Linked DNA regions of Homo sapiens: all the other regions are linked to region 7. The links are contacts of gene promoters, found by promoter capture Hi-C in blood cells and fetal thymus (Javierre and others, 2016). All regions are on one chromosome and are shown on one strand. Each heading gives the region's core, a stretch centred on a gene start or on the middle of the fragment in contact. The rest is flanking DNA. Distances are from core to core; before and after follow the strand shown.

Region 1 (3,742 bases), core at 832-3,331, 460 kb after region 7:
AGAAATCACCCATTTTAAATGCTTGTTTACATGTTGGTATAATGTTGCAAACTGACCACAAATTGCCTCTGATTTATGGTGTCGTGTTTTTTTGTTGTGGTTTTTTTTTTTTTTTTCTTGAGACGGAGTTTCCCTCTTATTGCCCAGGCTGGAGAGCCATGGCGTGGTCTCAGCTCACAGCAACCTCCACCTCCCGGGTTCAAGCGATTCTCCTGCCTCAGCCTCCCAAGTAGCTGGGATTACAGGCATGTGCCACCAAACCCGGCTAATTTTGTATTTTTAGTAGAGATGGGGTTTCACCATGTTGGTCACGCTGGTCTTGAACTGCAAACCTCAGGTGGTGATCCACCTGCCTTGGCCTCCCAGAGTGCTGGGATTACAGGTGTGAGCCACCATGCCCAGCCAGTGGTGTCGCTTTTTTTAAAATGAGATTTAAGGGGCCTAAAAAATAGCCAACAGAGTGGTAGCAAATGACTGCTTCCAAAAATCTTAGATATTATCAAACAAATTATGAGAACAGGCCGCGTGCTGTGGCTCATTCTGTAATCCCAGCACTTTGGGAGGCCGAGGTGGGTGGATCACTGAGGTCAGGGTTCGAGACCAGCCTGGCCAAGATGGTGAAACCCCATCTCTACAAAACTACAGAATTAGCTGGGCGTGGTGGTGGGCATCTGCAATCCCAGCTCCTCTGGAGGCTGAGGCAGGAGAATCGCTTGAACCCTGGAGGCAGAGGTTGCAGCGAACGGAGGTCACGCCACTGCACTCCAGCCTGGGCAACAAGAGTGAATCTCTGTCACAAAAAACCCAAAAAAATCCAAAAATTAGCCAGGCATGGTGGTGCGTGCCTGTAATCCCAGTTACTCAGGAGGGCTGAAGCAGGAGAGTCGCTTGAACCCGGGAGGTGGAGGTTGCAGTGAGCTGAGATCGCCCAATTACACTCCAGCCTGAGCAACACAGCGAGACTCTTGTCTCAAAAAAAAAAAAAAAAAAAAAAAAAGACAAAGTATATAGCAATATAATTTTCCAAGCCCTTTTTACAGATCTTATTTGGTGTTCCCTCACTCCCCAAAGGAATTTGATGGTAGGTACAGTGGCCTTTTTCAAATGGGAGTAAGTTAAAGTTCAGAAACCTAAAACTTCTTCAAGCTCATATAGCAAGCCAACAGAGCCAGGGCTGAAAACTGGTTCGTTGCCTGCCATCTATCTATTCTTGTTTCAGCTTTATTGTGTCAAAATTATGTATTTAATATGTTTATCAGGAAAGTGGCCTATGGGCTCTAGAAATACTGCTTATAGGAGTAAAATGTTCAAGAGAAATCAGTCTCACTTTATTTCCAGTATAGTGTATACAAATAAGGGCTGATGAGCAGAACCAGTTTTAGAATGAATGGCCAAGCCATTAAATTTCACTTTGAGCTTCTTAAGGTTCAGAAAGATTTGGGAAATTGTTTATTCAGTTTTTCTTTAAAGATCTTCAAGGAAAGGATTATGTTTTTATTAAGATACTTAAACTCCTTAAAAAGAAAGTCCACAATCCAAATGACTTGCTTAGTAAATTGTTAGAATTTGTCCACAAAAAAGTAGTGGTGGTTTTTCACTTACCTTACAAAGAACCTGCAGGTTAACATTGGCAAGCTCTTTTATGTGGCTTATGATCATATTGAGAGGTTATTTCTGGGGAAATGCGCTTCATCAAGCTCTAGAAGCTTTATTTTTCCTTCCTTATACTCAACACTGTTCAAAATAAGGGCAGCTAGATTTTAGCGTGCCAAAACTAAAGGTGGAACTATAAGCAGAAGGACATAATTAATGGTATTTCATGCTTGATTAGAAAGTTAAAATGTTCATTAGGCATATTGTACAGAAACGAGTTTGAGAACTTTTTTCAGTTGGTGGAAAGGCAATAATATTGTTGTGAATAAGTCCTTGTGGAAGGACCACTAGTTAGGAACTTACTAACTTACTAGCAGGTGACTTCATACTTCTAACCTCAGTGTCCTTATGAGATCTTGACCTTCCATTTCCTATTCTGATTTAAGTGAAGTAAGGCACTCCTTAGTAGCCACTGGCCATGTGTGGCTCCATTAATTTAAGACAAAAACAAAAATACGGTTTCTTAGTCTAAATGGCCACATTTACATGCTCAATAAGCACATGTGATTGGTGGCTGCTACGTTGGACAGAACAGATATAAAACATTTATCACTGCAGAAAGTTCTGTTGGGCAATGCTATTATAAAAGGTATGAGAAATTTGGCCTTCAAAACAACCAGTGCTGGCCCAGCAGTAAATGGGCTGTTTTCTACTAAATCAGGAAGAAGTAGAAATTGATACTCTTCTGTGGTGACTCAATAAATACATCAGCTTCCCTGGCCAATCTTGATTAATGAGAATTTACTGTGCTACAGAATTTTTGGATGAAGTAATTGGCCATGTTGCTCAATACGGTACGAAGTGAAAGCTTCAAAAAATATATTGTGACAGAAATGAATGTTTGGATTATTGTGAAATGTGCCCTTTTAAATAACATTGGTTTTTCTCAAGTGACTTTGAAGGTAATGCTTTTGCTTACCATATTTCCAAGATGGCCACGTCTGTGCCCTTAAGCAAATATTTAATCTCTGACCTGATTTTCCCTCATCTGTGATTACATCACAGTTTGAGGATCATCTGTGATAACGTGAACATTCTGTGTATATAGTAGGTAGTCAACAGATGTACCCTGTGAGGCTCATCTTTTATTATTCTTTGCCACATTCTTTATAGTGCCTTTAGCACAAATAAGATCCAGCATCTTAAACAGATTTGCAATGAGAAATATTTTGTTTTAGGTAAAAATGTTGTACATCAGCTCTCAGTAACCCTAGAAGACTTATATAATGGTGCAACAAGAAAACTGGCTCTGCAAAAGAATGTGATTTGTGACAAATGTGAAGGTACGGTGTTTTTTTGTTTTGTTTTGTTTTGTTTTTAAGCACCTTTAATATGACACCTGAAAATGGAGCTAAGACTTCTAGATAGATATGTAAAATTGATTCATGTACACTACCTAGATTTTGGGGGAGGAGAGGGCAGATATGAAGAAAACCAACTGAAAACCTCCCACCTAAAGAAATATCAGCACTTTTTTCTGTGTATATTTTAAATACAGTTGGGATCAAGCTAGTTTGGTATCTTTTTTGTAATAAGTAAAATTTATTGGAAAGTGTGTTCTAATAAGAATGAAACTCATTGGAATGATCTCATCAGTTGTACATTCAGAGGGTAGCATTCCATCAGGCTTCGAAAATATTAAAAGTATAGCATTTAGGAATTGTCTTCTTAAAACATTTACTACTGTATACACTACTAATTCATACATTATTTAATTTTCTTTTTAAATTTAGGTAGAGGAGGTAAGAAAGGAGCAGTAGAGTGCTGTCCCAATTGCCGAGGTACTGGAATGCAAATAAGAATTCATCAGATAGGACCTGGAATGGTTCAGCAAATTCAGTCTGTGTGCATGGAGTGCCAGGGCCATGGGGAGCGGATCAGTCCTAAAGATAGATGTAAAAGCTGCAACGGAAGGAAGATAGTTCGAGAGAAGAAAATTTTAGAAGTTCATATTGACAAAGGTGAGTTCTGAGTTACTTATTCTGAAGTCTTGAATGCTGTGGCAGATTTATTATTAACATTTTATAATTGTTTAAAAATCATTCTTAATTAGGTTATATATGATCCTATCAATCAGAAATAACTCTTA
Region 2 (3,788 bases), core at 1,099-3,598, 350 kb after region 7:
CGGGTAACATTCTGGTGGGTCCATCCAGATTTCTTTATTTTTGCAAGCATAAAATTTGTTTGTTGCATATTTTCAGCAGCAATGTTAAAGATATCCAACACTTAAAGAGTGATATCAAGAACTGCAGGACTGGCCAGGTACAGTGGCTCATGCCTGTAATGCCAGCACTTTGGGAGGCCAAGGCAGGCAGATCACTTGAGCTCAGGAGTTTGAGAACAGCCTGGCCAACATGGTGAAACCCTATCTCTACTAAAAGTACAAAATTAGCTGGGCATTGTGGTGGGCACCTGTAATCCCAGCTACTCGGGAGGCTGAGGTGGGAGAATCACTTGAACCCAGGAGGCAGAGGTTGCAGTGAGCTGAGATGGCACCACTGCACTCCAGCCTGGGCAACAAAGCGAGATTCTGTCTCAACAACAACAACAAGAACAACAACCAAAAAAAAAAAAAGAATTGCAGGACTGTAGAATTTTAGCCCTAGAAAGGAGCTTAGAGACTGACCAACAGAGTTACCTCATTTTACAAAGAAATAGGAAACAAAAGCTAAAAGAGCGTATGTTTTAGGTAATAAGAAAACCAGGCCTTGAGCATCAAACAAATCAGAAGAGAGAATGCTGAAGGTCAAATCAAACAGAATGATGTTGGGATCACTTGTGTCCCAGTATGGTCTATGGTTAAGAGGGCAGGCTCTTAGCCAGGATGCCTGGGTGTGAATCAAGGCTCTGCTGTGCACTTATTGGCTACTTGACCTCAATCTAGTTACCCAACTTTTTAAGCTTCATCTGTATTATTGCCTATTTATAGATTAAACCAGGATTAAAATTTACAGATTTATAGATTAAATCAGAATTAAAATTAAATCAGTCAGAATTAAAGGAAATAATTCAAGTAAACCACAGAAGAAGCACTTATCGTTGATTACAATTACCACCGTTACAGTGAAAGAGATCCAAGTTTCCCCGAGTTACTGGCAGCATATCTGTATGGGTCCAAAATTCAACCGAGGGGCATAAAGCAGAAAAGAGACCAAGCCAAGTTTCAGAGAAGGAGTGGAAGTTTATTTAAAAGCCTTTAGAACAGGAAAGAAAGGAAAATTAGCTTGAAAGAGACCCAAGCAGGCACTGAAGGTCCAAGAGAGAAATGAGAGCAAAAGAAGACAGCAAAAGGGGCCTTTGACCTTGATCTTTATAGGTTCGCCTTTATAGGGGACTATATAGGCTCGCCTCTCTCCCAGGATTCTTCCCTTAGGGTGGGCTTTCCGCATGCCCATGCTTTCCTTACTCTTTGGAATTGAGCACACACAGTGAGTTTAGGGAGTTGTACACATGCCCATCTGAGGCTTTCTTCCTTTTCCAGTGGAGGGTGCCCCCAGAAGATCATATTTCACCATTTTTGTCTCTTAACACGCATGCCCAGGAAGTTGCTTCTCCCTGGGGCCTGCATTCAATTAGCATTTTGATGTTAACAGGTGTGAACCATCAGGAAATGGCCTCTCCCTGGCGCTGCCAAATTATAAGTTTTAGAGAAGCGATGCAATAATTGCCAAACCATCACCCGACATTTCTAGTGGGTGGAGGGAGAGCCCTCTCCTGCCCCACTCATGCCTAACTACCTGTAGCACTGTTACTAATACATCATCTTCATAACAAAGGAGAATAAAGAGTGAAACCTGTTCACAACATTTTCTGTGCTTGCCCTGGACTTTGAACTGCTCATCCAAGGTTCTCTGAATGTTTGGAAGTAGTTTAGCCTAGTGGTGAAATTCCTAAATTGTCGCCTTTCTCTACTTCATTTCTATCAGTGGGTCATTCCTTCACTACTAGAACATTTGACCTGCACAGCACAGGTAAACATAAGACTTAGAATCCCTAGGCAAGGCCATACCTGGTGGGGAGGATTCCGGTCCTGACAGCATAGGCATGAGAGTTGTCTGAAGCAGACACCATATAGGGCATGTTGAAGGGCTCGCACTGACTGCACTCACAGGGGGCCTCTGGATCCAGGCCATCTCTAAGCCTGGAAAGAAACAGAGCCGGTGAAGATGCTTTATTTCACTCTGCACACCAGACCACCATGATCAGGTTTTGAGAGGAGGATTTTTAATGGCATGCTGTATGGAAAACCACTGGTTATAGAGTGTTATCCAAATATCAGTACTATCCTCATTCCGTAAATGTAGGGGTCCCATTAATTTACTCTCAAAGGGATATATTTCCAGGTGTGGTGAGGAGGCCAGCCAAGGCTACATTTCCTAATTCCTGATACCTCTCCTCCCAGTCTCGCTCTAGTTTCCACCATTTGTTAAAAGTTTACTGGCTGACAGGATTTTTCTAATTTCTAATTTTCAGAAAAGCAAAATTTCCTTACAACATGTGATCTCTAGAGAGCAAATGCTCCAACTGTGCTCCTTACAGCTTATCTTTGGAATTACCAACATAAGAACATGATTTTCCCTAGAGATTTTAATGCTGACTCCAGAGACTCCATCTAGCTCATCTTTGAAATCACAGTGTGAAGCATAGGGCCACAGTCAATGTTCATTCGGCCAAGACTACATGCTTGGCACTGAGCTAGTCTGTGATTTCAAAATTAACACACAAATGACCAAACATATAACTCAAAATTAATATAACCCACTCTTTGGGCCTCCAGGTATGACTACAGATCCGATGCAAATCATTTGTGAGTATTTCTGATGCATTAAAAATCATTTTTTAAAGATGCTCAATAATACAACATTAGGGGAAAGCTGGGGAAATTTGAATAAGGTCTGCAATTTAGTTACAAGCATTGTACGAATGTTAATTTCCTGGTTTCATGTCCTGGTTAATTTCCTGTCAATGTTAATTTCCTGATTATGTAAGATGTTAACAGGGGTAGCAGGGTGAAGGGTATAAAGGAACTCCATTTAATTTTTGCAACTTTTCTTTAAGTCTAAAATTATTTCAAAATAAAAGGTCCAAAAATTCTTTTAAAAAGGATGCTCAGCTTTCAGGTGGCCCAGTGGCCTAGGGCGGCGGGCTACATCAGTCAGACACAGAGATGTGGAACCCTGCCCTTGTAGCTCCTCTCCACGCAGGATCTGCAGGCTTCCTCTTCTGCACTGTGTTCATTGAATGTTTGCCTCCCAGACTGACGGGGAGCTCAAAGGGACCCAAATTCTCAAAGAGAAGTTTTCTGGAGCTACAGCTATCCAAGTCACTGACATTTCAGGAGGCTGTAGGTGATGTATAAAATCCAAATCAAACCAGAAGAATTTAAAGAAACAAGAACTGTCCCTCAGCACCAGATGATTAATCAGGCACTAAAAAAGGAAAATCAAAGGGATGCACAGATGGTGGGTATTTACCTCTGTCCCCAGACACTGACCTCCATGCCCCCGGGGCTGTGTAGATGCAGCTGCCTAAAACTTCGGATGAACTTGACTGGAACCACTCTTTCCTACGCATTTGCAAAAAAAAAAAAAAAAAAAAAGTATCTGTTTTGTTCGTAGACATTTCCATACTACAATTAAAGAAGAATGTGTTATCTATTTAGAGGTTAATTAAAGGCAACAGACAACTGGTGGAGGAGAGAGGTGGGAAAAGATGTTCAACTCAAAAAACAGATGGAGATCTGAGCATAGGTGTCTGAAATGACTAAGGAAATGTAAAACTGGGACAAATCTCATTGGTGCTAGAAATTAAGGAAAGGTACCATCCATGAGCCAAAAAATTATTCTAGAGATAATGATATTGGTAGCCAAAATGAAGAAAGGGGACAAAAGCCAATGTCCAACTGACGTCTCA
Region 3 (3,728 bases), core at 474-2,973, 370 kb after region 7:
AAGAGCCAAGGAAAGCTTTTCAAGCAGAAAATAACTTCATATCTTAGCCCAAGTTCCCTAGAAAACAGAGCTTAAGGGTAGGATTAAGGTGCTAAAATTTTATTGGGAAGTAAAGCCTCAGAGCAGTGAAGTGAAGGAAGAATTGAAAACAAATGCAACTGCTTACTGCTTTATGACAAGCCATAAAGAGGCAAAGCCCATTTTAGCTTTACTCAAAAGCTAAAAAGTACACTGCTTGGCCACACAAGATGTCCCTGGACAGGGTATGTGGGAAAACCGTGCCCCGGACAAGTCCATGGAAGGGACTCCTTTCTCCTGCTCGTCAAAGTTGCCCCAGAGGATTTAACCCTGACTTCTTTACCCAGAAGTAGGGGAGAAGCCAAGAGTATGGTTGGTCGGCCTCAAGTGGAATTGCAGGGGCTTGCATAGAACAATAATCCAAGGGTCTGTGAAATTGATCAAGCTGAGAGAATCTACAGAGGTAGGGAAGATGTGTCTGATATACATGGTTAGATTTGCGTTTTCAAAAAAATAATCCCTAGAAGCTGTAGAGTGTGGATTTGAAGGGGGTAGAAGGTGGCAACAGCAGGGAGACAAAAAGACCAGATAAGAAGCTGGGCCAGGCATGGTGGCTCATGTGGGTAATCCCAGCACTTTGGGAGGCCACAGTGGGTGGATCACCTGAGGTCAGAAGTTCGAGACCAGCCTGGCCAACATGGTGAAACCCCTGTCTCTACTAAAAATACAAAAATTAGCTGGGCATGGTGACACACATCTGTAATCCCAGCTACTTGGGAGGCTGAGGCAGGAGAATCACTTGAACTGGGGAGGCAGATGTTGCAGTGAGCTGAGATCACACCACTGCACTCCAGCCTAGGTGACAGAGTGACTCTGTCTCAAATAATAATATTAATTAATTAATAATTCAGCAATCACTGCAGAAACTCAACCCTGTCAACTGAGCCAAATTTCTGAAAAGAAAATAAATTGTTACTTATTTTTAAATAAAAAAGAACCTTATTTACTGTTGGGAGAAAAAGCTGAGTGTCCGGAGAGAAGCTGAGGCAGGGCTTGCATGTCTGCTAGACTTGCTTGGCTCCTTGCTTCTAGCACTCCCATTATCTCAAGCCGCCATATGTTTTTCATTCACTTGATACACTGTTTCCTTTCAACCCCCACATCCTCACCACCTGTTTCTTTGTTTGAGCACCACTAAATAGTGTGGGCTCCCAAAGCTCTGGGCCTTCACAGGCTCCACACTCAGGATGGCCCCCTGGTCCGACTTTCTCTCTCAAACTGTCTTTTTCTCATTCCTTTGACTCAGCAGGACTTCGTTGCCCCCACGACCTGGTGTTGGGTCTGATCACCCCAACATTTACAGATAACAAGTAAAAAATAATCATAAGTAAACAGACAACATGCTGCTTAGAAATGGAAGAATCATGCTTAGAAATGGAAGAATTGTTCTTAGAAACACTGGAAAGGATATCATCAGGGTTTTCTAGCGCAGTCAGTAAAGTTCGGATCAGAAAACTTCTCCTACTCCACATGCCCTTATCACACTCCCACTCAGTGTGTAAATGATTGCCTGAAGTGTGGACGGTGTGTGCCTGTATATCAAAGATATGAAATAAACATCAGTAGGATCCTTATGATGCACTCAGAGAGCAGGGGTAGTGTCTTTAGCTAGAGGAGTAGCTGTAACTTTGTCTCCGTTTGTTATGTTTGAAGGCATGTAGTTTGCTCTCTGATATACCAGAATCCAATTAACTCAAATGGTTTATAGACCACACAAATACGAGGCAGTACCTGCTGTCCAATGCCTACCACGCTGCAGGTACTCAACAAATGTTAACAAAATCCATTTGTTTATTTATGCAACCAACATTTATTGAATGCCAAATATGTGCCAAACACTGTTCTAGACATTGGAGATAGAGCAAACACATTTTTAAAATTTCTCTTTTTTGTATTATAAAAGTATTAAAGATTGTGCACAAAATGAAGCAATACAGGGATATATTAAAAAAAAAAAAAACTTAATCAGCCCCGTCCATACCCCACATCTTCCAAACCTACCCCTCTGAGGTAACCAATTACTTTTGTTTTTGTTTTTTGAGACAGGCTCTGGCTGTACTGCCCAGGCTAAAGTGGAGTGGCATGAACATGGCTCACTGCAGCCTTGATCGCCTGGGTTCAAGTGATCCTCCCACTTCAACCTCCTGAGTAAGCTGGGGCTATAGGCACATGCCATCACACTCACCTAGTTTTTTAATTTTTGTAGAGACTGGGTCTATGTTGCCCAGGCTGGACTTGAACTCCTGGCCTCAAGAGTTCCTCTTGCCTCCGCCTCTCAAAGTGCTGGGATTACAAGCATAAACCATCATGCCTGGCCCAATGTATTTTTTTCTAATATTTTTAATTGACAAAAATTATATAATTTATTGTGTACAATATATTGTTTTGAAATATGTATACACTGTGGGGTAGCTAAATTGAGCTTATTAACGTATTACTTCACATACCTATTTTTTTTGAGGTAAGAACACTTAAAATCTAATCTTTTAGCAATTTTCAAGAACACAATGCATTGATATTAACTGTATTCACCATACCGTACAATAGATCTCCTGAATTTATTCCTCCTAACTGAAATTTTGTATCCTTTGACCAACATCTCCCCAACGCCCAATTCTCAGCCTGATAACCACTATTCCACTCTCTGCTTCTATGAGTTCAACTTCTTTAGAATTCACGTACAAACGAGATTATGCAGTATTTGTCTCTCTGTATCTGACTTATTTCACTTAATATAATGTCCTCTGGATTCATCCAGGGTGTCACAAATGGCAGGATTTCCTTCCTTCTTGAAGCTGGATAGTATTCATATATAGCATTTACATTTTATTAGGTATTATAAGTAATCCAGAGATGATTTAAAGTATATGGGAGGGGGCTGGGCATGATGTCTCACACCTGTAATCACTGCATTTTGGGAGGCCGAGACGGGAGGATCACTTGGGACTAGGAGTTCAAGACCAGCCTGGCCAACATGGTGAAGCCCCGTCTTTATATAAAAAAATAAAAGTATATGGGAGGATGTGTGTAGGTTATATGCAAATACTGTTATCATTTTATATCAGGGACTTGAGCATCAGCAGATTTGGGTATCCGCAGGGTGTTCTGGAATTAATCCCCTACAGATCCCAAAAGATAACTGTGCTTGGTCACTTGTTTGTCTTTTTTTGACAAATGTCTATTCAAATCCTTTGACCATTTTTTAATTGCATTATTTGTTTTCTTACAATTGAGTTGTTTCAGTTCCTTATTATTTTAGATATTAATCCCTTATCAGATGTATGGTTTGCAAATATTTTCTCCCATTCTGTAGGTTGTCTCTTAACTGTGTAGATTATTTCCTTGGCTGTGCAGAAGCTTTTTAGTTTGATACAATCCCATTTGTCTATTATTACTTTTGTTGCCTGTGCTTTTGGGTTTATATTTAAAAATTCAGGCCTGGGTACCGTGGCTCATGCCTCTAATCCTAACACTTCAGGAGGCCAAGGCAGGAGGATCTCTTGAGGCCAGGAGTTTGAGACCATCCTGGGCAACATAGCAAGGCCTCGTCTTTAAAAAAAATTAGCTGGGTATAGTGGTGCGTGCCTGTATTCCTTATTACTTGGGAAACTAAGGCAGGAGGATCCCTTGAGCCCAGGAGTATGAGGCTG
Region 4 (3,635 bases), core at 560-3,059, 430 kb after region 7:
TGTTTCCTTCCATGGAAAAGCAGAGACTTAATGGTATGATGAAGCTATCAGAGCCTTCAAGACAGAAGGTGGGAGGATCTTCCAAGAAACACAGAGGACAGGCTTGCTTTTGTTAGCAGAGAAGATGCAGGTTTATATTAGGGTCATATAAGGAAGTGGGAAAACACAAGCAGCATCTCAGCAGCCACACAGGCCTTACAGCTGAGGAATGTTGTTCACAACTGCCCAAGATAAAAAGAGGCAACTCTGGTGACCTGACCAGTTTTGTTGTTCCCTCAATTAAGCATCCCTCTCGGTTAAGGGTGCTTCTTTGACCTGCCTTTGTGTGTCTTGCATCCAAAAGTTGGATTGGATCATTCTAATTACATCATTCACTATATAATGTGCAAAATTGGGCAGAGTTTCCACGTCCTGCTTGTTAGGCCTAGTCCATTGTCTATAGTGTATTAGTGGCCAGAAAAGCAAGATCACATGGCACAATGTATAGCTAAAGGTATGGCAGGCAGTGAAGACTTTCAGGCACTTCATATTGCCATGCTAATCACCAGAACTTTTTCATCTTGAAAAACTGAAACTCGGCCAGGCACGGTGGCTCACACCTGTAATCCCAGCACTTTGGGAGGCCAACGCAGGTGGATTACCTGAGGTCAGGAGTTCAAGACCAGCCTGGCGTGGCGGAACTCGCCTGTAGTCCCAGCTACTTGGGAGGCTGAAGCAGAAGAATTGCTTGAACCCGGGAGGTAGAGGTTGCAGTGAGCCAAGATCACTCCACTGCACTCCAGCCTGGGCGATAGAGCAAGACTCTGCCTCAAAAAAAAAACTCCGTATCGATTAAATAGCTCCCTATTTTCCCTCCCCCACCTGGCAACCACCATTCTACTTACAGTTTTCATGAGTCTGACCACTCTAGGTACCTCATGTAAGTAAAATCAGACAGTATTTGCCCATTTGCGACTGGCTTATTTCACTTAATATAATGTCCTCAAGTTTCATCCACATTGTATCATGTGTAAAAAGTTCCTTTTTAAAGCTGAATAACACTCCATTGCATGTACACACCATACTTTATCCATTCATCCACCCGTGGATATTCCACCATTTGGCTATTGTGAATAATGCTGCTATGAACATGAGTGTATAAATATCTCTTTGAGATCCTGTTTTCACAATTTGCAATTGCAAGAACATGGAACCAACCTAAATGCCCATGAACTGATGAATGCATAAAGAAAATGTCGTACATATACACCACAGAATACTACTCAGCCATAAAGAAGAATGAAATAATGTCTTTTGAAGCAACTTGAATGGAACTGGAGGCCATTTTTCTAAGTGAAGTAACTCAGGAATGGAAAACCAAATACCACATGTTCTCACTTATAATTGGCAGCTAAGCTTTGGGTATGTAAAGGCATACAGAGTGGTATAATGTTCATTGGAGATTCAGAAGTGGAGAGAGTGGGAGGAAGATGAGAGATTTTAAAAAACTACATATTGGGTGTAACTATTACTCGGGTGATAGGTACACTAAAATTTCAGACTTCACCATTATACACTTCATCCATGAAACCAAAAACCATTTGTACCCCTAAAGCCACTGAAATTTGTTTTTAATGTGAAACAATTTTTAAAAATTCTTCTTTCAATTATTTTGAATATATACACAGAAGTGAAACTGCTGGATTATATGGTAATTCCATTTTTAATATTTTGAGGAACTGTCACACTGTTTTCCATAGCAGCTGGATGATTTTACATTTCTACCAATAGTGTACAAGAGTTCCAATTTCTCCACATTCTTGCCAACCCTTTTTTTTTTTTTTTTTTTTGAGATGGAGTCTCGCTCTGTCACCCAGGCTGGAGTGCAGTGGTGCAATCTCGGCTCCCTGCAACCTCCACCTCGCGGCTTAAGGCGATTCTCCTGCCTCAGCCTCCTGAGTAGCTGGGACTACAGGTGCCTGCCACCACACCCGGGTAATTTTTGTATTTTTTTTTTTTTTAGAAGAGATGGGGTTTCACCATATTGGCCAGGCTGATCTCAAACTCCTGACCTTGTGATCCACCCACCTCGGCCTCCCAAAGTGCTGGGATTACAGGTGTGAGCCACTGCGCCCGGCCGCTTGTTACTTTTTTTTGATAGCAGCCATCCTAATGGGTGTGAAATGGTATCTCATTGTGGTTTTGCTTTGTATTTCCCTAATGATTAGTGATGTTGATCTTTTCATAAGCTTCCTGTCTATTTGTATGTATTTGGAGAAATGTCTATTCAAGTACTTCATTTTTTAATGGGGTTATTTTTGTTTTGTTTTGTTGTAGGAGTTCTTTATATATTCTGGATATTGACCTCTGATCAAATATAAGATTCCCATTTCATAGGGTGCTTTTCACTCTGCTTGCTGGCTGTATCCCTGGATGCACAAAACTTAATTGTGAAGTACTTTAATTTACCTATTTTTACTTTTGCTGCCTGTCTTTTGGTGTTATATCCAAGAAAACATTGCCAAATCTGTCATGAAACTTTTCCCTTATGTTTTCTAAGAGTTTTATAGTTTTAGGTCTTATGTTTAGGTCTTTGATCCATTTTTGAGGTGTGGTTTTATTTTTTTGTTTTTTGTTTTTGTTTTTGTTTTTGTGAGACAGAGTCTTGCTCTGTTGCCCAGGCTGGAGTGCAGTGATGCAATCACAGCTTACTGCAGCCTTGACCACCCAGACTCAAACAATCCTCCCACCTCAGCCTCCCAAGTAGCTGGGACTACAAGCATGTCCCACCAAGCCTGGCTAATTTTTTTTTTAATAGAGACAGAGGTCTTGCTATGTTGCCCAGGCTGATCTTGAACTCCTGGGCTCAAGCAATCCTCCTGCCTCAGCCTCCCAAAGTGCTGACATTACAGGTGTGAGACACTGTGCCTGGCCTTGAGTTCATTTTCTGTACTATGTAAGGTAAGGCTCCAACTTCAATTTTTTGCATGTGGATACCCAGATTTTAACAATATCATTTGTTGAAAAGACTGCCCTTTCCTCACTGAATGGTATTGACATACTTACTGAATATCATTTAATCATTTATGCAAGGATTTACTTCTGGGATTTCTATTGTATTCCATCAGTCTGTATGTCTGTCTTTACACTAGTACTGCACTGTTTTGATTACTATAGCTTTGTAATACTTTTTGAAATCAGGAAGTATAAGAACTTTATTCTTTTTTTTTTCAAGATTGTTTTTGGCTACTCTGCTCAGGGTTTTGTTGTTTGTTTGTTTGTTTGTTTGTTTTAATTCCAACAGTTAGAAATGAGATCTCACATGAAAACCTGGATTCTGGCTGGGCTCAGTGGCTCATGTGTGTAATCCCAGCATTTGGGAAGATGAGTCAGGAGGATTGCTTGAGGCCAGGAGTTCAAGATCAGCCCAGCCAACATAGCAAGACCCTCTCTCTATAAAAAAAATTTTAATAAAAAGAATTTTTTTTAAAAATCAGGATTCCTGATCTCTTGGGGGAAAAATCAATAAATCTAGCCAAGTCTAACAACAAATAGCTAGAATTGTGAATAGCTGCCATGTGCTCTCCAGTTTGCCACTGTTTCCACCCACTCACTTATATAACCTGTCTGGCCCCCTGAAAGCCCTTCTTTCTTTA
Region 5 (4,057 bases), core at 1,476-3,975, 480 kb after region 7:
ACTTTTCTAAATCTCAAGTCCTTTGCTAATTTTTCTTTGGAACAACAGCACATTTTCAATGCCAAACCTTCTCCTACAACATACAAAGGGGAGATGCCAAAACTCTGAATTCTTGTAACGGATCCTGCAACTAGTTCTATCCAGAAGATGGAGACAATATTCCCTGGAGTTGACTGAACATGTGAGAAGGCACAGCTCAGAAGGAGAGGAAGGCTGAGGGCAGTGAAATGAGAACCTATGCATCACCTGGCCTTTTTACATGTTAGTCTATCCTACTATCCCAGGAATTCACTTCTGCTGTACTTGAGATTCAGGGATAATAATGTGACTCCTCCTCCCACATTCTAAGTAAATATGTTAACTAGATGAGCATTTATGTACATTTTAGAACAAAGTCTCCAGAAAGGTATAAAGTTTATTAACATCTTTAAAAAAAAAAAAAAAAAAAAAGATGGGCCGGGCATGGTGGCTCACGCCTGTGATCCCAGCACTTTGGGAGGCCAAGGCGGGTGGATCCTTTGAGGTCAGGAGTTTGAGACCAGCCTGGCCAACATGGTGAAACCCCATCTCTACTAAAAATACAAAAAAATTAGCCAGGCATGGTGTCGCACACCTGTAGTCCCCAGCTACTCGGGAGGCTGAGGCAAGAGAATCGCTTGAACCTGGGAGGCGGAGGTTGCAGTGAACCAAGATCGTGCCGCTGCACTCCAGCCTGGGCAACAAGCAAAACTCCATCTCAAAAAAAAAAAAAAAGATGGAACAGAACACAGCTACTGAATATGATATAGTTCCTTATTTACAAGTTTTACTATGGGAGGGACATTTTCCTCAGCATTTCAAATAATCAGAGGAGTAGAATTTTTTTCTAGAAATATCAGTATTTCACTCTCCAGGTCGAAGATTAATGAAAACATTAAGTGACTGCACCAGTTAGAAGAAGATAAACTAATACCTTAAAAATATATAAAAAAAGAAAGGGTAGTTGCTACTTAAACATGAATTTTCACAAAATTATTCTGTGACTAATTCAGACAATCTATTTGCTTAGAAAAGCTGGCAAAAAAAAAAAAAAGCACATTACATGAATATGCTTCATTTAAGTACATGCTTTCGAGCTGATTTAAAAAGAAAAGTTGAATTATGGTTTCCAGAGCTTTAGGAGTCCATCTTCACTGTAGGTAGCAATCAGGTTCTGATGAGGGTGATGTGCAATACCAATCACATCCTTCTCGTGCACCTGGAACATGTAAAGCACAGGGTTAGGATGTACAGATCTGCAATAAATCACTCTGATGAGGCTTCCAGAGGTGGGTGGAAGGGAAAAAGAGATCTTGGGAGGCCACATATTCCAAATGGCATAGGAGAAAGATGGAGGAGGGTTTTCCAACTCACATCACATTGTGACATAATAATAAACTTTAGGCTGGGCGCAGTGGCTCATGTCTGCAATCCCAGTACTTTGGGAGGCAGAGGCGGGTGGATCACTTGAGGTCAGGAGTTCAAGACCAGCCTGGCCAACAGGGTGAAACCCCGTCTCCACTAAAGATACAAAAAATTAGCCAGGAGTGGTGGCATGTGCCTGTAGTCCCAGTTACTTGGGAGGCTGAGGCAGGAGAATCACTTGAAACCAGGAGGCAGAGGTTGTAGTGAGCCGAGATCACACCACTGCACTCCAGCCTGGGTGACAGAGTGAGACTCCCTCTCAAAATAAAATAAAATAAAATAAAAATAAACAAACTTATATAGTGTTAAGCCACCGAGATTTGGGGATCATCATAGCAGCTGACATTAATTTTACTTCTTGAATTTGACATGGAGCTAAATGTTTTAAAACAACATATTTTATACTGAGGGTCACATCGATAGCTCTGGAAAAGGCACATACTTCAGAGTTCAGAAAGACACAAGTCCTACCATATTTCTTTAGATGAACTTAGTAAGTAATACTCACTGTCAAAGTTCTCTCCAGTTTGCCAGTGACTGTACTGAAACAGTAGAGCACAAAGTCCTCCCCTACACAGTAGATCCATTCACCACGGGGAGAGAGGGCACAGCAAACAAAGTCCCCACCTTCTCTTTTACCAGAACTGAAGCTTCTGACAATCTAGATCACACCACACCCCAAGAAAAAAACATCAGGATTAGTAGCAGCTCAACCATGTGCAGCATTTTAAACTGACATTTTTACGTTGTTATTTTGCACTTTGGTTTACTATCATTTGTAATTAGATCTCCAGTCCTGTTCATCATGTGCTAACTCCCCTTGCCTGGGAAATATTCAATAGATAAGTAATCTAAACTAAGTGGCAGACAAAAATTTAGAATTCATACATCCCACGTCACCAATCATGCCCTAAAGAGACATATTACCCTTAAGCAAATTTCATTGCCATACAAAAAACAATTTTCTAAATCAATATACCAGTATTTCTCAAAGCTTTCTGGATGTCTGCTCTCCAGTTTCCTCTAACAGAATGAGAAGCTTTCCCCATACAGGATGACACTCAGTCTCTAAGACTTTGCTTGCTCTATTGATACATTAAAATCATCATAAACCAAGCTGAGAGAAACCAATCTGAAAAGGCGAACAGTTTACATACTATATGCTTCCATTTCTATACCATTTTCAAAATGACAAAATTATAATAATGGAAAACAGATCAGTGGTTGCCAAGGGTTAGGGCTTGGGATTAACCTGAAATTTAAAACATGATACCATTTACATTAGCAGCCCCAAAGTGAAAATACTTAGGTATAAATCTAACAAAATACATACAATATTTAAATGAGGAAAATTACAAAATTCTGATGAAGGATATCAAAGAACTACACAGAGATATTCTATGTTCATGAACAGGAAGACTCAATATGGTAAAGATGTCAGTTCTTCCCAACTTAATCTACAGATTTCATACAATCCCAATCAAAATCCCAGCAAATTATTTTGTGGATATTGACAACCCAATTCTAAAGCTTACGCAAAGAGGCAAAAGACCCAGAATAGCGAACTCAATGTTGAAAGAGAAGGACAAAGTTGGAGGGCTCACAATACCCAACTTCAAGATTTACTACTAATCTACAGTAATGAAGACAGTGTGGTATTGGATCAATGGAACAGGATACAAAGCCCAGAAATACACTCAACTGATTTTTGACAAAGTAGCAAAAGCAATATAATAGAGAAAAGATAGTGTTTTCAACAAGAGATGCCATAATTCGACACTTACATGCAAGAAAATGTATCTAGACACAATAAAATAAAGACCTTACAGTCTTCACAAAAATTAACTCAAAATGGATCACAGACCTAAATGTAAAACTCAAAACTGTATTTAAAACTCTTAGAGGATAACAAAAAAGAAAATCTAGATGATCTTGAGTTTGATGACTTTTTAGATACAACTCCTAAGACATGATCCATGAAATAACTGATAAGCTAGACTTCATTAAAATTAAAATTTTCTACTCTGTAAAAGCCACTGTCAAGAAAATGAGGCCAGATGCAGTGGCTCATGCCTGTAATCCCAGCACTCTGGGAGGCTAAGGTGGGAGGATCACTTGAGGCCAGGAGTTTGAGACCAGCCTCAGCAACATGGCATGACCCCATTTCCACACACACACACACACACACACAAAAGTCGGGCATGGTGGCACGTGCCTGTAGTCCCAGCCACTTAGAAGACTGAGGCTGGAAGATTTCTTGAGCCCAGGAGCTCAAGGATGCAGTGAGCTATGATCATGCCACTGCACTCCAGCCTGGGCAATGGAGCAAGACCCTGCCTCAAAAACAAAAAAGGAAGAAAATGAAAAGACAAGCCATGGACTGGGAGAAAATATCTGTAAAAACCAGATTTGATAAAGAACTATTATCCAAAATATACAAAAAACTCTTAAAACTCAACAGTAAGACAACAACCCCATTGAAAAATGAGTCAAATACCTGAAACAGAAACCTCACCAGAAGTATAGAGATGACAAATGAGCATATGAAAAGATTTCTACATGTGGAAATGCAAATTAAAATGAGATACCACTACACACCTATTATTTGAATGGC
Region 6 (4,034 bases), core at 489-2,988, 410 kb after region 7:
CTCCTGCCTCAGCCTCTCGAGTAGCTGAGATTACAGGCATGCACCACCATGCCCAGCTAATTTTTTGTATTTTTAGTAGAGACAGGGTTTCTCCATGTTGGTCAGGCTGATCTCGAACTCCTGACCTCAGGTGATCCTCCCGTCTCGGCCTCCCAAAGTGCTGGGATTACAGGGATGTCTGACTGTTAATGCCAGGGCAGCACAGTACTACTGTCACAGTGTATTATCTCTGATGCTCCCCTGAAAGGAACCATACTAAGGTTAATGCAACTTCCCTTAAAGTACCCAGAAGTTTAAAAGGCACAAGGCAGAGGGGATATTCATTTGAAGAACTCAGCTTTCTCTCCAAACAATGACAGCTGCTACTTTATTGCCAATGTGAAAAGCCTCTTGTTCTCACAGAACAGCCCAATAAAATGAATCTCATTCAGAAAGACTGATATCCTTTGATTTCATTTGTAATTAAGACCTCTGTGGAGTGGTCATTTACAACATGAAATGTACTGAAATTCCAAAATTGTATTCTGACCTGCATTTTGGGGTCCTGCATAGAAATCTTCAAGCCTTGACTCCAGTGGCCCAGGGATTCCTAAAAAAAAAACAAAAAAAAAAACAAAAAAAAAAAAAAACAAGCAATGTAAATTACAAATGCCAATAATTAAATTTGGCAACAGTTAATACTGTGTGATAGCACAACTAAACTTGGAAATAAGCTTAGTTTTTGAGAATTAAACAAGATTCACTTGACTCTGCTTCACTCCATTGCCTTCCTATATTCTCTTTTTTTTTGAGACAAAGTCTCACTCTGTCTCACCCAAGCTGGAGTGCAGCGGCGTGATCACTGCAACCTCCGAAGTGATTCTCCTGCCTCAGCCTCCCAAGTAGCTGGGATTACAGGTGCCCACCACCACGCCCAGCTAACTTTTGTATTTTTTAGTAGAGACGGAGTTTCACCAGGTTGGCCATGCTGGTCTTGAACTCCTCACCTCAGGTGATCCACTGGCCTCCACCTCCCCAAGTGCTGGGATTACAGGCGTGAGCCACCACACCCGACCCTATATTCTTTCTTTTTTTTTTTGAGATGGGGTTTCGCTCTTGTTGCCCAGGCTGGAGTACAATGGCGTGATCTCGGCTCACTGCAACCTCTGCCTCCCGGGTTCAAGCGATGCTCCTGCCCAGCCTCTGGAGTTGCTGGGATTATAGGCATGCACCACCACGCCCAGCTAATTTTGTATTTTTAGTAGAGATTAGGTTTTGCCATGTTGGTCAGGCTGGTCTCGAACTCCTGACCTCAGGTGATCTGCCCATCTCGGCCTCCCAAAGTGCTGGGATTACAGGCGTGAGCCAGCACACCCAGCTGTTTTTTATTATTGTTGTTGTTTTTTGAGATGGAGTCTCGCTCTGTCGCCCAGGCTGGAGTGCAGTGGTGCAATCTCAGCTCACTGCAACCTCCGCCTTCCAGGTTCAAGCAATCCTCCCGCCTCAGCCTCCCGAGTAGCTGGGATTACAAGCATGTGTGTACCACCAGGCCCAGCTAATTTTTGTATTTTTAGTAGACATGGAGTTTCACAATGTTTGCCAGGCAGGTCTCAAACTCCTGACCCTCAAGTGATCTGCCCACCTCGGCCTCCCAAAGCGCTGAGATTACAGGCGTGAACCACTGCACCCAGCCAGCCTTCCTATATTCACAGCTGGCTGTTCTAAATGAAGGCGAGAAATGCCAGAGTATGAGTCATACCTTCTTTGCCCTCTCTCACTGCAGCTACAGCCTGACCAATTCTCCACTTTGACATCAGCATATGAATTACATGATCTATGAAAACCTTCTATAGATGCATAAACAACTGATCCACTTTAGTTGTTCAATGTTAAGTACACACTGCCATTATTGTTGTACCTTCAGGTGGCTTACCTCAGGAATTTAAGAAAAAAGCACATAAAGGAACATTCATCCAAATGATTTTCACGCCACAAACAAGTGACTCTTTCATCATGGTTAATAACCCCTCACGCATTTCTGAACTTTAAAGTGTACAAAACAATTAAGCAGTCATTATATTTCATTTCTTCTCCACATCATCTACCAATCACACTACCCTCACCTTTTTGATAGGTGCATCTTTTCCCTTCTTTAGGGGCACAGAGCATTGGCCAGAGTTGCTCCCAGGTTCCAGCCCTGTCCCAGCCTCAGCTTCCTGAGCAGCATCCCTTTCTATAGAATCACTGTTGCCTGATCTCTTTCTCTTCCTGTGTGTTTCCAGGCCAGGGTTCTTTGCCTCTTCCTCAAACTCTACAATATATGGATAAAGTTCATTCACCATGTGGAGAACCTGGCCAGGCTGCAGCTTCACCTCTTGGTCCTTCCCAATTACGACTGAGTCAATGCTGGTGGGATTGACTCCTACCTATGGAATAAACAATCAGAAAATAATTATAATAATAGCAACAGCACCTACAGTAAGATAGCCACTGCTATGTTAACCACTTACTATATGCCAAGCACCTTGCCTTATGTTCACCTATATTACTCCATCACTTCCATACATGACAGAGAAGCCTTCACTGGCTGGCACAGACACTCTAAAGTCAACAGCATAAGAAAATCATCGAGTATAAAATTCCAAGTTATAAATACACCTACCTGCTTTACCTTGACATATCCCTTGTTACACTCTGCTTTCAACTGTACTGAAAGAGATTGGAAAAAGTTAAACACAAATGCAACAAAGAACCAGGCACTTGCTCCTATCTTCCCTAAAGAAAACAAGCTTCACTACAGGCGGCAGCTGAACAGGTGGTGTTTCCTTAAAGGCCTATTAGCAATCACCTGTTATTGCAGGTGGCTGGAGCTCCAAATCCTACCAATTTCTAAAGGTTTAAATCCTTCCATAAAATGTCCAACAGCGTACATACTCCCTTAGCTATTGCCAAGATCCCTATGAGGCAGCTTCAATTAATCCCCACAAGTTTCCCTATTCCAGAACCCCTGGCCTGCTCATGATCACAGACTCTGCCGCCAGAAAAGAAGACCTGTTTCTCCCAGCCTGGGCAGCATGGCAATACCCCGTCTCTACAAAAAAATACAAAAATTAGCCAGGTGTGGTGGCACATGCCTGTAGTCCCAGCTACTTGGGAGACTGAGGTGGGAGAATCACTTGAGCCCCAGGAGGTGGAGGTTGCAGTGAGTCAAGATCGCACCACTACACTCCAGCCTGGGCAACAGAGTGAGACCCTATCTCAGGAGGAAAAAAAAAAAAAAAAAAAAAAAAAAAGATCCATTTCTCACACGAACTCTTGACCAAGGATTAAATCAGGCTTCCACTATTATTTTGGAAAAACAACAACTATTAGATGCTTTAAAAGATAAAACAGTAAAAGACACATTCCTGGAAAACAGAAACTCAGGTGGCTTTGGGTAGAAGGAGTGGAAAGAATGTTCTAGAAAGATGATTGCAGAGACAGAACAATCTGAGCATGTGTGAGAAGTGGTAACATTAAGCATTCCTGTTCTGATAAATGAACAAGGTATCTGGAGTTGAGACAGGGAGGAAAGAAGAACCACCATAGCTGCTCCCCAGAGAGGACAGGGTGCCACATACATGCCCCTTCAGTTGCTGTTGTGAGGAAGGGAACAGAGAGAGAAGCAGCCACTGCTTCTGCATCTTGGGCCTACTCAGCTCAAGCATGGCTTTGTATCCCTCCACTTAGATTAACTCATATAGGAAAGATCATAATCAGTGCTGCAGATGCCAACTCTCTAAGTTCAGAACCCTTGGGAAACCTTGCTGTGGGGGGGTCACACTCCAGCCAGCAGTGTGCATGTTTACAGGAAAAAACAAGGTACATGGTAAGGATTTTTTTCTGAGGGCAAGGACTTTCATGTTATTAAACCCTAAGACAAGTGCTAGATGCCACTGTCTCATAATACTTTGCGTGAAGCAATATGTAAAGGACGGCACTACCCCATTACTTCTCAGAAAGACATGGTTTCACCTGTAGACTCCAGAGTTTACATCTTGCTGCCCATTGAGCAA
Region 7 (3,548 bases), core at 816-3,315:
TTTTATATTTATGGCAGAACAAAAGGCATCAATGATGTAACAATGCCATGACTATTTTACAAAACTCTAAATGGCACATATTTTCTTATAGTCTGTAGGTAACCTCATCTACTCAAATATTCTTAGTAAATGCAGAGTCTGCTAGAAGATACCTACAAAGTCCAGACCAAAATGCTTAAGCAGTATTTTGCAAGACTATAACAAGGCATTTATAGATTTTTTAAAGACTTCCAAAAATATCCTTATTATAAGTTTGTTAAAGATAAAATATAGCAAAATAATGAAAGAATAATTTTAATGTATTTAACCAGAGTAATCAAACCTACAGAATTTTTCAGGTATAGTCATCTCCCTTATTTATTGATCAATGACACTCACATCATTTTAGGTATAAGGCAGACAACCTTGACAACGCCAATGCTGGAAAAAGGACGTTTTACATACTAAGATGGGGTGTCCCAAACTCACTCCAAAATGCCCTCTGCAACACTATTTTAAAAAAGAACTAAAAATGGAACTTTCCCATGTCTTCCAACTTGATTAAAAAACACCTATCCATTCAAGGAAGGGACAATCCAGAATCTAAGAATTATAACAGATATGATTATAAAAGAATAAATTAAAGTAAGGTAAGGTGAACTTCGACACATTATTATTTATTTACTTCCTTATATCACTTGCTGATGGATGGGATGTCAACTTTAAATCAGTGACTGCCAATATTCCGATAATGTCAGGGATACAAAGGGTGGGAGAAGAGTTGAATTTTACCACCATAAATAAGTATCCAATATCACTTTCTCAGAAAAATTTTCAACAATTCTATTGCACTAGACTTTGTAGCACAGTAAGAATCAGATACATGTTGATTACAATATGAACTCATATTCAATTCCTAGCTCCCTGACCACCAGCAAATCACTGAAGCTTTGTAGGCCTCAGTTTCTTCACATTTAAAATGAGGATTAGGAATATCTACCTTACAGGAATAAAGAAATGAAGTAACACATGTAAAACCCCCAGTAGAGTGCCAAGCACACAGCAAGCACCCGTGTGTTACGTAGTATTGTTACTACTATTATCCTGTCATCAGTAAGTGTTGCAGGTAACTGAAAGCAATTCTGAGATGTTTATCATCCATAACAGTCCTCAAGAAAATACCCAGAGGCCTTGAAAATAAAGTTCTTGAATGAGTGATTTTCTTCAAAGCCCAAAATGCGATTTTTTTAATGAAACACTGTGTTAAAAGTACAGAACGGTAGTTTAGAAAGGTAGCTCTTGAATGTGACTCACAAGGCATACCAACAGGACCCTGTCTTTTACGGGGATCACATGGGGCTGTACTATCAGCTAGGGGCTGGCTGTGCCCTCTGGTGGTTGGATACTGTGTTACTTGGTCTCTAGAACCTCACACTTAAAAGTCAGACAAGTGTCCTCAAATACTTAAATCACAGAATTTTAATTCTAGCGAGTCCTTGGTTATTATTCTGAGGGAAGATTTCTACAGTCAAAAGAGAACCAAACGTGCAGCGTCCTGGAAAACCTAAGTATTAAAATTCGCCCCCGTCCACTGTACTTGACAGTAAAAGGCATGATTCTCTCAAAGCCATACATATTCCTGGACTCCTGCCTCCCGAGACTCCAGGAGGACTCTCGGGACTGGCCAGTGTCCCAGAGCACTGAGCGTTATCAGTCCTTGGTGTGGCTGCAGGGAGCGGACGTTCAGTGTTCAGGCTGCCGGCAGCAGTGGGATGTGTTGGGGGGGACCGGAGAGGTCTGTCACTCACCATTTTCCTCCAAGGGGATTTATTCTCCAAAAATTTATTCCAGAATTTCTCCATAGGCCCCATCTTCTGTGGGGGCAGCACCGGCTCCCGAGGGCTCAGCTCCTGGTCCTTCAGCCATCGCCTTCTCAGCTCTCGCAGCTGCTGCAGCCGCAGTTTCTCATCCGGAGTGTACCCCGTCATGTCGCCGCTGGTACCAACGCAAAAGGACACGGCGCACCCTCGAACTACGGACTAGTTACTTAAGCGCGCTCCCGCTCTGCAAAGCGACCTTGCGGGAACGCCGAGCGCCGCGCGCGGTTATTACGTCACATCCTGGTTCCGCCTCTGCAAGGGCCCCAGATTCCTCGCGAGGAAAGCAGTGTGTGGGCATGCACAAAGGTCTCCACCTCCAGTTCTCTCTACGCCCACCTCCGCTATACCCGACCAAATTAGGACCGGGTGGGGACAAGGAGTACTCGTAGTTGTGGGGCCTGAGGAAAGTGACAGATTAGACGAAAGTATGCTAAATTAGAGGACTGGAGGTTTTGCTAAGGAAGAACTTGTATGCTGGGAGGAGGAAGGATAAGCATAAATGTTTCAGTGAATATGCTGGCCAGATTCAAAATTATTTGCTTGCCTCTCCCACCTTGGAATGACCTAGAGAGTGTATGAAAATAGTTACATCCCAGTTCAAATCCCAGCTATGCCAGTAACTGCTGAAGTGCCCTGGGCAGCTGTCTCATCTGTCCCTCCATCTGTACAGGAATAGTGAAAAGAGTAGCTTAATATCTAGCAAAATTGCATAGATGAATTCATGCTTTCACCCAAAAATACGTGTGGTGAAAATATGAAAGAGCATGCACGACTATTCAGCACGATTCATAATACCAAAATATTGGAAATTACCCCCAAATTCCTAAATAAAGGACTGCTTGAATAAATTGTAGTACAACAGTCAAAAGACAGCATTACAACGAATTAGTTTAAAAATCTTAATTGACTCTTATTCGTGATTCTAGAATCAAAAAACACCTCATTCTATAAAGTAGAATGAGTGTTCTGATCAGCTGAGCAGAGGCGGTTGGTTTTATTGGCAAATAGGGGCTGAAGAAAGCAGAAACCGAACAAAAAGTGGACTCATCGTTTCAAAGTTACTTTTAGGGTTAAAGCAGAAGAAACTTCCTTGTTTCACTGACTCAGACTTAAGGGAATTTCCTATTTTTTGGGAAACTGGCCCATTTCAAAGTTCAGTTTGATTGTGTGGTACTTAGCACAAACGACTCCATTCTGGTTTGGTCTGGTCTGCTGGGGCCTAGTGCGTGAAGCTAGTCCAAAACAGTGGCTTCCCAAAAACTTTCACACAACAAAGCAATGAAATGCTAATACAATCGTCAAAAGTAATAAGGAAGAACTCTATATACATCTGTGGTGTGATCTCCAGAATACATTACAAAGTGGAAAAAAAATGGATAGGAATTTGTACAGTATGCTTTTACCCAAAAAGAGAAAGATGGTGGTAATTTCAATATATATACATATTTTCTTAAATTTTCAAAATAATGGGAATGAAAACAATTGAGGTTTTTAAAGATGCTACCTATGGTGGAGGAAATAAATAGGATAGAGGAGACAGGGATAGAATCTAGACATCTCTGGAAACATCTTACTTCATAAATTTGACTTTAGAACCAAGTAAATATTTCATATTGTGAAATTAAATTTAGCTTAAAGATGTCTCCGTATTTTGAGTCCTTATATAATGAACTGCAACCCAACTTAGTA

What was found. The method cuts DNA at HindIII sites, captures the fragments that hold promoters and counts their contacts. A CHiCAGO score of 5 or more calls a contact.
Region 1: a contact is called between a fragment that was not itself captured here and the fragment with the promoter of NDUFB6 in region 7, in 15 of 17 cell types (M2 macrophages, M0 macrophages, M1 macrophages and 12 more). The highest score is 14.2, in M2 macrophages.
Region 2: a contact is called between a fragment that was not itself captured here and the fragment with the promoter of NDUFB6 in region 7, in 1 of 17 cell types (M2 macrophages). The highest score is 7.4, in M2 macrophages.
Region 3: a contact is called between a fragment that was not itself captured here and the fragment with the promoter of NDUFB6 in region 7, in 1 of 17 cell types (M0 macrophages). The highest score is 5.5, in M0 macrophages.
Region 4: a fragment that was not itself captured here is called in contact with the fragment with the promoter of NDUFB6 in region 7 in 12 of 17 cell types (naive B cells, monocytes, fetal thymus and 9 more); the score reaches 9.9 in naive B cells.
Region 5: a contact is called between a fragment that was not itself captured here and the fragment with the promoter of NDUFB6 in region 7, in 1 of 17 cell types (M1 macrophages). The highest score is 5.0, in M1 macrophages.
Region 6: a contact is called between a fragment that was not itself captured here and the fragment with the promoter of NDUFB6 in region 7, in 14 of 17 cell types (M1 macrophages, M0 macrophages, M2 macrophages and 11 more). The highest score is 18.1, in M1 macrophages.

What each region holds. Positions count from the first base shown.
Region 1 is chr9:33,027,054-33,030,795 of GRCh38, forward strand. It overlaps DNAJA1 (DnaJ heat shock protein family (Hsp40) member A1), which reads left to right. Exons shown (of 9, transcript NM_001539.4): 4 at 2,832-2,936; 5 at 3,387-3,614. Among named protein-coding and RNA genes, the nearest start is that of DNAJA1, 3.7 kb to the left of the region's middle. The HindIII fragment of the contact is 755 bases long and covers 1,705-2,459 here.
Region 2 is chr9:32,923,013-32,926,800 of GRCh38, forward strand. It overlaps the pseudogene BOLA3P4. Among named protein-coding and RNA genes, the nearest start is that of APTX, 77 kb to the right of the region's middle. The HindIII fragment of the contact is 3,149 bases long and covers 775-3,788 here.
Region 3 is chr9:32,941,769-32,945,496 of GRCh38, forward strand. No RefSeq gene overlaps it. Among named protein-coding and RNA genes, the nearest start is that of APTX, 58 kb to the right of the region's middle. The HindIII fragment of the contact is 3,420 bases long and covers 14-3,433 here.
Region 4 is chr9:33,002,822-33,006,456 of GRCh38, forward strand. It overlaps a transcript of APTX not described here. Among named protein-coding and RNA genes, the nearest start is that of APTX, 3.0 kb to the left of the region's middle. The HindIII fragment of the contact is 833 bases long and covers 1,394-2,226 here.
Region 5 is chr9:33,046,155-33,050,211 of GRCh38, forward strand. SMU1 (SMU1 DNA replication regulator and spliceosomal factor) reads right to left here. Exons shown (of 12, transcript NM_018225.3): 11 at 1,952-2,104; 12 at 1-1,237. The coding sequence ends at 1,139. Among named protein-coding and RNA genes, the nearest start is that of DNAJA1, 23 kb to the left of the region's middle. The HindIII fragment of the contact is 491 bases long and covers 2,481-2,971 here.
Region 6 is chr9:32,985,442-32,989,475 of GRCh38, forward strand. APTX (aprataxin) reads right to left here. Exons shown (of 8, transcript NM_001195248.2): 3 at 2,642-2,688; 4 at 2,103-2,405; 5 at 530-589. Among named protein-coding and RNA genes, the nearest start is that of APTX, 14 kb to the right of the region's middle. The HindIII fragment of the contact is 2,055 bases long and covers 712-2,766 here.
Region 7 is chr9:32,571,094-32,574,641 of GRCh38, forward strand. It overlaps NDUFB6 (NADH:ubiquinone oxidoreductase subunit B6), which reads right to left and starts at 2,066. Exons shown (of 4, transcript NM_002493.5): 1 at 1,788-2,066. The coding sequence starts at 1,967. RefSeq lists enhancers at 1,614-2,153, 2,424-2,473. The HindIII fragment of the contact is 6,496 bases long and covers 926-3,548 here.